Regions from separate parts of the Homo sapiens genome. Here region 1 is linked to region 2. The links are contacts of gene promoters, found by promoter capture Hi-C in blood cells and fetal thymus (Javierre and others, 2016). All regions are on one chromosome and are shown on one strand. The core of a region is centred on a gene start or on the middle of the fragment in contact, and the rest is flanking DNA. Distances in the headings are between cores, read along the strand shown.

What was found. Contacts are between HindIII fragments. The CHiCAGO score rates a contact against its expected background, and 5 or more counts as called.
Region 1: a contact is called between the fragment with the promoter of SIRT2 here and the fragment with the promoter of KCNK6 in region 2, in 1 of 17 cell types (neutrophils). The highest score is 6.2, in neutrophils.

What each region holds. Positions count from the first base shown.
Region 1 is chr19:38,898,098-38,902,809 of GRCh38, reverse strand. SIRT2 (sirtuin 2) reads left to right here and starts at 3,192. Exons shown (of 16, transcript NM_012237.4): 1 at 3,192-3,304; 2 at 4,385-4,431. The coding sequence starts at 3,289. It overlaps NFKBIB (NFKB inhibitor beta), which reads right to left and starts at 2,841. Exons shown (of 6, transcript NM_002503.5): 1 at 2,599-2,841. The coding sequence starts at 2,777. The HindIII fragment of the contact is 23,515 bases long and covers 1-4,712 here.
Region 2 is chr19:38,316,384-38,321,218 of GRCh38, reverse strand. It overlaps KCNK6 (potassium two pore domain channel subfamily K member 6), which reads right to left and starts at 1,374. Exons shown (of 3, transcript NM_004823.3): 1 at 947-1,374. The coding sequence starts at 1,268. It also overlaps a transcript of YIF1B not described here. RefSeq lists a silencer at 1,192-1,281 and an enhancer at 923-1,546. The HindIII fragment of the contact is 18,756 bases long and covers 1-1,846 here.

The DNA of each region.
Region 1 (4,712 bases), core at 1,943-4,442, 580 kb before region 2:
CCACTGAGCCCAGCAGCCATACAGTTTCTTTTGACTACTCGACTCTGCTGTGTCAGTGCAAAAGCAGCCACTGACAATATGTAAATGAGTGAGCTTGCTTGCGTTCCAAAAGAACTTTATTTATGGAGCTTGAAATATGAATTTCATACACTTTCACTTGCCATATAATATTATTATTCTTTTGATTTTTAGAAACTGTTTAAAAATGTAAAGACCATTCTTAGCTCACAACCATACAAAAGCCATATAATATTATTATTCTTTTGATTTTTAGAAACTGTTTAAAAATGTAAAGACCATTCTTAGCTCACAACCATACAAAAGCAGATGGCTGGCTAGATTTTGCCTGGAGGCCATAGTTTGCCAACCCCCACCTTAAAGCAACCACTAACATAACAAAAAGAGGAATATCTAATAAGCAAACAAAAGAAATAAAATGAGGCCGGGCGCGGTGGCTCACGCCTGTAATCCCAGCACTTTGGGAAGCCGAGGCGGGCGGATCACAAGGTCAGGAGATCAAGACCACGGTGAAACCCCGTCTCTACTAAAAATACAAAAAAAATTAGCCAGGCGAAGTGGCAGGTGCCTGTAGTCCCAGCTACTCGGGAGGCTGAGGCAGGAGAATGGCATGAACCTGGGAGGCGGAGCTTGCAGTGAGCCGAGATTGCACCACTGCACTCCAGCCTGGGTGACAGAGCGAGACTCCATCTCAAAAAAAAAAAAAGAAATAAAATGAAAAACACTATACAGAAGGAGCAGGATTGAAAAAAAAGTAACAAAAACTATACCCAATAAAAGGCAAAAAGGAGGGAGGAAAAAGAAAACATAGGTAAGTAGAATATATATAATAGACATGGGATAAATTTACACAATCATATCAATATCAAATTAAATGTAAATGGTCTAAACACTAATTAAAAGGCAGAGACTGTCTGGGCACAGTGGTTCATCCCTGTAACCCAGCACTTTGGGAGGCCAAGGTGGGAAGAATGCTTGAGCTCAAGAGTTTGAGACCACAGCTGCACACAGTGGCTCACACCTGTAATCCCAGCACTCTGAGAGGCCACAGCGGGTGGATCACCTGAGGTCAGGAGTTTGAGACCAGCCTGGCCAACATGGTGAAACTGCTGTTGCTACTAAAAATACAAAAATTAGCCAGGTGTGGGGGCACGTGCCTGTAATCCCAAATTTGGGAGGCTGAGGCAGTAGAACTGCTTAAACCCAGGAGTCAGAGGTTTCAGCGAGCAGAGATAGTGCCACTATACTCCAGCCTGGGTGACAGAACAAGACTCTGTCTCAAAAAAAAAAAAAGAGTTTGAGAACATAGGGGGACAAAAAAATTTAAAAATTTGCCAGGCATGGTGGCATGTGCCTGTGGTCCCAGCTACTCAGGAGGCTGAGGTGCAAGGATCACTTGAGCCAGGAGGTTGTGGCTATAGTAAGCCATGATCATGCCACTGCACTCCAGCCTGGGCGACAGAGTGAGACTTCGTTTCAAAAAAAAAAGTCAGAACAGAGACCAATTGAATAGAAAGTAAAAAAAAATTAATGAAACCAAAATTAATTAATGAAATTTAATGAAAATTAACGAGACTATAAAGCTGGTTGAGATCAATATTCAGTGCCTCCTGGATCAGGCCCTGCTTGCATCACTGGGCATACAGCAGTAAACACAACAGACAAAAAACCCAGTACAATCCCTCATCTGGGCCTTTGCAACTGCAGTTCCTTCTCCTTGAAATGCTCTTATCTTGTTTATCTATTGCCTCATTTTCCTGCTTTATTTTTCTCCAAAGTACTTAACTACCTCTGACTTTATTTCCTTTTCTTACTTTCTATGTTTCTTTCTTTCTGCGTGTCTTTCTTTGTTTCTTCCTGTCTTTCCATTTCTTTCCTTCCTTGTGGTCTTATCAATCTGTTTATTTAGCTCCACTAAAATGTATGCTCCACAAGGGCTTAAGTTTTTGTTTGTTTTCTTCACTGCCTTTATCACTAGCACCTAAACGGAGCCTGGAACGTGGTAATGTGTAAAGAATATTTGTTTAACAGATGAATCCTTGGTCTCATGGAGCTAACATTCTTTTTTTTAATTTTCCTATTTTTTTACTTTAATTAGGAATTCAACATAGAAGAGCTTACATTCTCTCTCTTTGAATTTAAGATTTGAAGAACACTGCTCAGAAGACAGGATCTTAGAGTCAGGGACCAAGTATTAATTTCGGAAATCAAACTCTAGGGCTCAAATCGGGAACTAAGAATCAAAGATCATATTTGGAGGTTAGAAGTCAGGAGAAGCCACAGTTCTAACAGAAGTCTCAGGACTGGAGTCAGGTTTGGGTATCAGTGGATACAATGTGGATTCCAGGAGCTGAGAATCATAGTTCAAGAAAAGAAGGTAAGAAATGATTGGGTTAGGATCATAGCTAGATAGAAGATTGGTTTTGTTAAAAGTTAGGACTCGGGGGTTAGAGGTCAGGAAGTTCAGCATCGGAAGTCAGATTTAGGAGTATGAGGTTAGGAAGCCTCAGGGATCAGAGATTAATGAGGAATGTGACGCCGGGTCCTAGGGCTCCGTTTGGCAGCCTAAGGTTCACTCACGTGTCCCCATCCTCAGTGACGTAGCCGAAGACGAGGGGAGCCCACGACAGCCCCGGGCCCAACTCCGCGCCCAACCCAGGTCCTCCGGGGGCCGCTGCGTCCGGACCCAGGGAGCCCAGGCCGCTGTCGCACCATTCATCTGCGTCGGCAGCTTTTCCCAAGCACGCGACCCCAGCCATGGCCCCCGCCGCCTCAGGGGCCCCCCGCAGTCGCCCGCCTGTAGCTGGGCTTTGCCGGGAGTTCTGGAGCTTCCGCCCTGCGGGAAATTCCCCACCACGCCCCCTGATTCACCCAATGATAATATGCTGAATCGCTCACACCCCGCCCTCGTACTGCATCCTGACCAATCAGAGTATTCGGGAGGACTACAACTCTCTAGCCGTTCCCACATTTTCCGGGCGCCCTTTACCAACATGGCTGCTGACGCCACGCCTTCTGGGACTCGTAGTCCGGTCCTCGCGCGCTTTCTTACCTAACTGGGGCGCTCTGGGTGTTGTACGAAAGCGCGTCTGCGGCCGCAATGTCTGCTGAGAGTTGTAGTTCTGTGCCCTATCACGGCCACTCCCATTTCTGGTGCCGTCACGGGACAGAGCAGTCGGTGACAGGACAGAGCAGTCGGTGACGGGACACAGTGGTTGGTGACGGGACAGAGCGGTCGGTGACAGCCTCAAGGGCTTCAGCACCGCGCCCATGGCAGAGCCAGACCGTGAGTCGGGGATCCGGGTAGGAGGGTCGGGCCGCGCCGGGGCCTGGCTGAATGCTGCAGGCCCCGGGGCCCAAGGGTGGCCGCGGTGGGGCGGGAAGTAGGGAGCGCTTCGGGGAGTGGGATTCTGAGGGCTGTTGCTTAGCGATCTGTATCGCTAGGCTGGTGGGTTTCTGGGTCGCAGTGTGTTCAGGGTTCGTTTACCACATCCACTTGCCAAGTTGCCAATGATCGCGTGTTTCTCGCACCTTGGTTGCTAAGGTCCCTCGCTGCAAAGAACATAAGTTGCCCCGGTCCCGCTTGCTATGGGTACCTGATTGTTAGAGGCAACCAGAGGATGCTGAGGGACCCCTGCTGACCCCTCCTATGGCTTCCCCTTGTTCCGCGCCTCTCCTAAACCTACCGCCTCCACTGCACCACTGCACCTCCCTCCTAAACCTGCCTCCCAGCCAAAGCGTCTCTTCCCTTCTCTTTTCCTTTCTAAACTTCCCTCTGCCTTGTAAATCTAACCCTCCCCGCACACACACTCACACACTGTCGTGTCCTTCCTAACTCCTCCTGAGTGTTCCTTCATGCCCTGAATCCCCTAGGTAGGAGGAGGAGGATCGCTTGAGCCCAGGAATTTGAGGCTGCAGTGAGCTATGATCGCACTATTGCACTCCAACCTGGGTGACATGAGCGAGACCCTTTCTCTAAAAAGTAAAAAAGAAAGAAAGTAAGTCAGGGCCAGAAACAATGGCTCATGCTTGTAATCCCAGTACTTTGGGAGGCCAAGGTGGTTGGATCGCTTGAGCCCAGGAGTTCAAGACCAGCCTGGGCAAAAGCCCCTACTTTCTCCCTGTCCCCCTAAATCTTCCTCTCCAGCCTCTCTGCCCCTCACTAATCACCTCTCCCGGCATCACTTTGCATGTAGATAAGATCTTTTCTCCGTCCCCTCCCTCCCTCTGCTCCATTTTTACCACCATCCCATCCCAGTGTAACTAGGTTGGTGGGTGTTCTTGCCCCCTCACTGACCATTTGAACCCCTTTATTCCCCCCTTAATCGTTCTCCCCACTGTAACCACCTCTGCTCCCCTCCCCCAGCCTCTCACCCTCTGGAGACCCAGGCAGGGAAGGTGCAGGAGGCTCAGGTGAGATGGGGGAAAGGGTGGAGGGGAGGAGAGAGACGGACTTGTTCCACATCCCACACTGGGGGGAGGTGGCAAAGGGGAAACAGTCACCCCAGGGCCCTCGGCTCATTGCCCCAATCCCTCACACCACCCAGTGCAGCTTTCTGGGGAAAGGCAGATTCTGGGGATTGTCAGAGAAGAGTTTCCAGCCTCAAGTCCAGGCCTGTCCTCCCAAACTTTCCTTCTTCCTTGCCACTGCCTGCCATCCCTTCTGAACCACATTTGTCCTGGGACTGGAAGAG
Region 2 (4,835 bases), core at 125-2,624:
CTTGCTGAGGAATCTCTGTTGGGAGGGAGGTCTTTAGTGAGGACACCCTGAGAGGTCTGGAGATTTAGGGTCCTCGCTAAGGCGCCAGGGTCAGGAGGAGGTTGAGATGGGGTTTCTCCAGGGGGGTTTCCCAGAAGGACATATCTGGAGGGTCAGGAGACATGGCAAGGGTGGCAGGCCCAGACTAGAGATAAAGTCAGGGGTCCTGGCATGGTTGAGTTCTGGGTCCAGAGGGGGCAAGGATCTCCCTTGGAGGGTGGCGTGTCCTGGGTCCTTGCTGGAGGTCTCTGAGGACAGTCCTAGGCTTAGAGGGGGCTGGACAGACCCGGGTCACCAAGAGGATTAAGACCGGGGAATGCAGTCCCAGTGCAGTGGCTCAAGCCTGTAATGCCAGCAATTTGGGAGGGCGAGGCGGGCTGATCACCTGAAGTCAGGAGTTTGGGACCAGCCTGGCCAACATGGTGAAACTCCGTCTCCACTGAAAATACAAAAATTAGCCAGGCATGGTGGTATGTGCCTGTAATCCCAGCTACTCGGCAGGCTGAAGCAGGAGAATAGCTTGAAACCGGGAGGCGGAGGCTGCCGTGATCCGAGATCGTGCCACTGCACTCCAGCCTGGGCGACAGAGTAAGCCCTGTCTCAAAAAAAGAAAAAGAAAAGAAAAAAAAAAAAGACCGAGGAACGGGGTCCCAGCTGGTCTCTGCAAAGGTACTCTGAGGGGAGCTGGGTGTTTCCTACTTAGGAGGAAGGGCTCGGACTTGGGCTCCCCGAGCAGAGCAGATATCATGAGCCTGGGTCCCGGGTCCTCACTGGGGTCTTTTCGGGGGATCCGAAGCCCAGAGGGGATTGGGATAAGGGTATTCGTGAGGGCCCCGGGGTCCCCAGGGGTTAAGGATGAAGTGGGGATCCCGGGTCCTCGCCGCCTTGCGGTGAGGCGCTTACGTACCCACGGTGGTGATCAGCGTGCTGGCGAAGAAGAGAGCAGAGGCGAAGTCCCAGGCGGGGTCCGAGGCGTTGGCGGACCCCGAAGCGTTAGCAAGCACGACCCGCCCCAGCCGTCCGGCCGCCAGCACTCGCTCCACGAAGGCGTCCAGGGCGGGGGCAGCCACACACGGGCTGCGCTGAAGCAGCTGCGCCCGCAGCGTCTCCAGCTCGGCTCGGAGCCTGGCTTCGTGCGGCCCCTCCAGCCGCGCCACCAACAGCGCGCCCAGCACCAGGTACGCGGCGTACGCGGCCAAGGCGCCCGCCAGAAGCGCGCCCCTCCGCATGGCACCCACCGGGACCCCGCGAGCCCTGGGTGGCCCCGCTGACGTGGCCCCCGCCTCCGGACCGTCTGGCACCTAGTTCCAGTTCCGGGAGTGCTACAGGCGCGGCAGCAGATGCCCCAAGAGGAAGAGGAAAAAGGGGAGGTGGGGGGCGGCGACGGAGGAATGCCCCGCCTCCGGGAAACTGAGGCACGCCCAACCGCCAGGTGTTCGTTCGGAGAGGGTGGAGCCCAGTGCTCCCAGACCCAGCAGACCAACGGGATGGAAAGGGTGGAGGTAGTCCTCTCTTCCCCTCATTCCTTCCTTCTCGTCCTCCTGGAAGGCTGGTTCTCTATGTTAGAAGAATCTGAACTTTCCTCTCTGCTCGCAGGCCGAGGAGTCGCCCCCCATCGCGCACAGCAGCTAAGGTTGTGCACTGCATCAGGGCGCGCGGCTGACGGAGCAAGGGGCAAACTGAAATCCAATTCTCGCTCCATTCGCCAAGTTGTGAGCCTCGGAGTGGGAACAGCGGACACCACAGAGTCAGGTGTCCCCTGTGCCCGTGTGGACAGAGTGGGGATCCTCAGCTACTCACCAAAGCTTTGTTCAATGCCCACTTTCTGCTGACCCCTCGCTGGATGATCCTGGAGACTCAGTAATGATGAGACCATCCTGCGCCATGCATTCATGGGGCTCCCAGTCTAACTGGGAGACTGACACAAGAGTGACCCACGCCTGTTGTCCCAGCTACTCGGGAGGCTGAGGTCGGAGGATTGCTTGAGCCCAGGAGTTCGAGGCTGCAGTGAGCTATGCCTGGGAGAGAGTGAGACCCTATCTCTAAAAAAAAGAAAAAAGACAGCCCAGAGTGGTCAGGGCTGTGATGAGGGAAGCAAGGGTACAATGATCAAGCCTGGAATCAGGGAGCCCTAGAGGGCCCTGGGAGTCCAGAGGAAGCAACCACCCCTGCCTAGGGAGGTCAAGAGAGCTTCCTGAGGAAGGGGCTAGCTGAGCTGAAGCATGAAGGATGAATGGAAACAAGCCAGGCAGAATCACAAATACACGCCTCTATTTAAGAGGAAATTTTTCTTTCTGCGCCCCCCCGTAAGTCTCTCCACTTCTGCCTCCAGCCAGAACTCAGCGCCTTCCTGACAGCCTTTTGGAGGGCAGCCCAGAGTCCTAACCCCATCCGACTGGCAGAGGAGTGGGGCTTGGGGCTCAGCTCAGACATGTCCCAGCTGGTTCTATTAAAGAGCTGGCAGATCACCGGGCAGAGCCCAACTTGGGGTTGACAATCCAGAAGCAGAGGCACCTGATAATAGAATCAGTAACACAATAGGTGCCAGTGATCGAAGGCTTACATTCTGCCAGGCCCTGTGGACACCTGAACTTGCACTGAATTCTCAACCCCGTCCCAATATAATTCCCACTAAACAGATGAGAAAATTTAGGCTTAAAAATGAAGTAGTCATTTGAGACCAGCTCGGGCAACATGGCAAAACCCCATCTCGACAAAAAATACAAAAATTAGCCAAGTGTGGTGGCATGCGTCTGTAGTCCCAGCTACTCGGGAGGCTGAGGCAGGAGGATCGTTTGAGCTCAGGAATTAGAGACTGCAATGAGTTATGGTCGCACCACTGCACTCCAGTATGGGTGATAGAGTAGACCCTGCCTCAAAAAAATAAAAAGTAGTAGTCACACAACTGGTAAGGGGTGAACATGAGGCCAGCAGGAAGCCAATGAACTAATGAACTTGCTTTTTTTTTTTTTTTTTTTTTTTTTTTGAGACAAGAGTCTCGCTCTGTCTCCCAGGCTGGAGTGCAATGGCACAATCTCGGCTCGCTGCAACCTCTGCCTCCTGGGTTCAAGCAATTCTCCTGCCTCAGCCTCCTAAGTAGCTGGAATTATAGATGCCCGCCACAACACCCAGCTAATTTTTGTATTTTAAGTAGAGACAGGGTTTCGCCATGTTGGCAAGGATGGTCTCAAACTGACCTCAGGTGATCTGCCCGCCTTGGCCTCCCAAAGTGCTGGGATTACAGGCGTGATCCGCTGCACTTGGCAGTACTTGCTTTATTAATTAAATATATATACATAAGGCTGGGTGCGGTGTTTCATGCCTGTAATCTCAGTGCTTTGGGAGGCCAAGGCAGGTGGATCACCTGAGGTCAGGAGTTCGAGACCAGCCTGGCCAACATGGCGAAACCCTGTCTCTACTAAAAATACAAAAAATTAGCCAGGTGCGATGGCACACGCCTGTAATCTCAGCTATCGGGAGGCTGAAGCAGGAGAATCACTTGAACCCAGGAGGCAAAGGTTGCAGTGAGCCGAGATCGCATCACTGCACTCCAGCCTGGGCGACAGAGCAAGACTCCATCTCAAAAAACAAACAAAAAAGCAATAAGAAAAAAAAAAACATTTATGGAAGAGATGTATCTGGAGCAACCAGAGCAAGAGAGGGCTGAGGATGAGGAGAAAATGGTGTTGGAGCCCAGGGGACAGAGGCTAAATCAGAGGTGAAGAAGAATGCGGGCATTTCGCTCACAAAAAGGAACCACAGTGGAGCCAGCACTCATCACTGAGAAACCAGGAGCAGCCCTTAAGGTCTCCAAAAAGACAACGTCTCAGAGGAGGAAGAGGAAGCCACAGCGATAGGGTCACTTGCTGACATCCTTCCGGATGCGCTATCGCTGCGCAGAAGTAACTTCCACCACTATGTTTTCCTGAGATAAGTCGGGGAGTCTGAGAGGGAGAGAAGGGGGGAGACTGAGAGTCAGAGAGAGGAGAGACTAAGGACGCTAGGTGGGCAGGGCTCTTCACTTGCAGGTGCGCCTGTGTGCTGTGAGTTGCTGGGGGTTGTAGAATGCTTTTGGTGGACAGAGGGAACCAGGTTGCAATGTGAGAACATTTTTATGAATTTCTGGGAAACTGCCTTAAGATCTATTCCAAGAGAGACACCTGGTTCTTCTCACCTAACTTGTTGGGTTTCCTTTTCTCACTCTAAATATTCACTTTAAGGCCGGGCACTGTGGCTCATGTCTGTAATCCTAATGCTTTAGGAGGCTGAAGCAGGAGGATGGCTTGAGCCCAGGAATTCGAGACCAGCCTGGGCAACATAGCAAGATCCTGTTTTGACAAAAAATTTAAAAATTAGCTGGGCATGGTGGTGCATGCCTGTGGTGCCAGTTACTGGGGAGGCTGAGGCAGGAGGATCACTTGAGCTCAGGGGGTCCGAGGCAGCCTGGAAAACAGAGGAAGACCCTGTCTCAAAATAAATAAATATTTACTTTAATACCTAAGGGATGTCAAAAATTGTATAAGCCCCTACAACTCCAATTAGCCCCTCAGGAACACAAATGTTTCTCTTTTCCTTGCTCCACAGCCTTTTCTGGCTCTCCAGTGCTCTCAATGACCCAAACTGAACGGCTGTCTGCAGAGAACTGCATTTCCCATCGACCTTTTCGCTCGATATTTACATTTTAAAAAATGTTTTGTAGCGATGGAGATCTCGCTGTTGCCCAGGCTGGTCTCGAACTCCTGGGCTCAAGCGATCCTCAGCCTTCCAAAGTGCTGAGATTACAGGCGTTAAGCCAC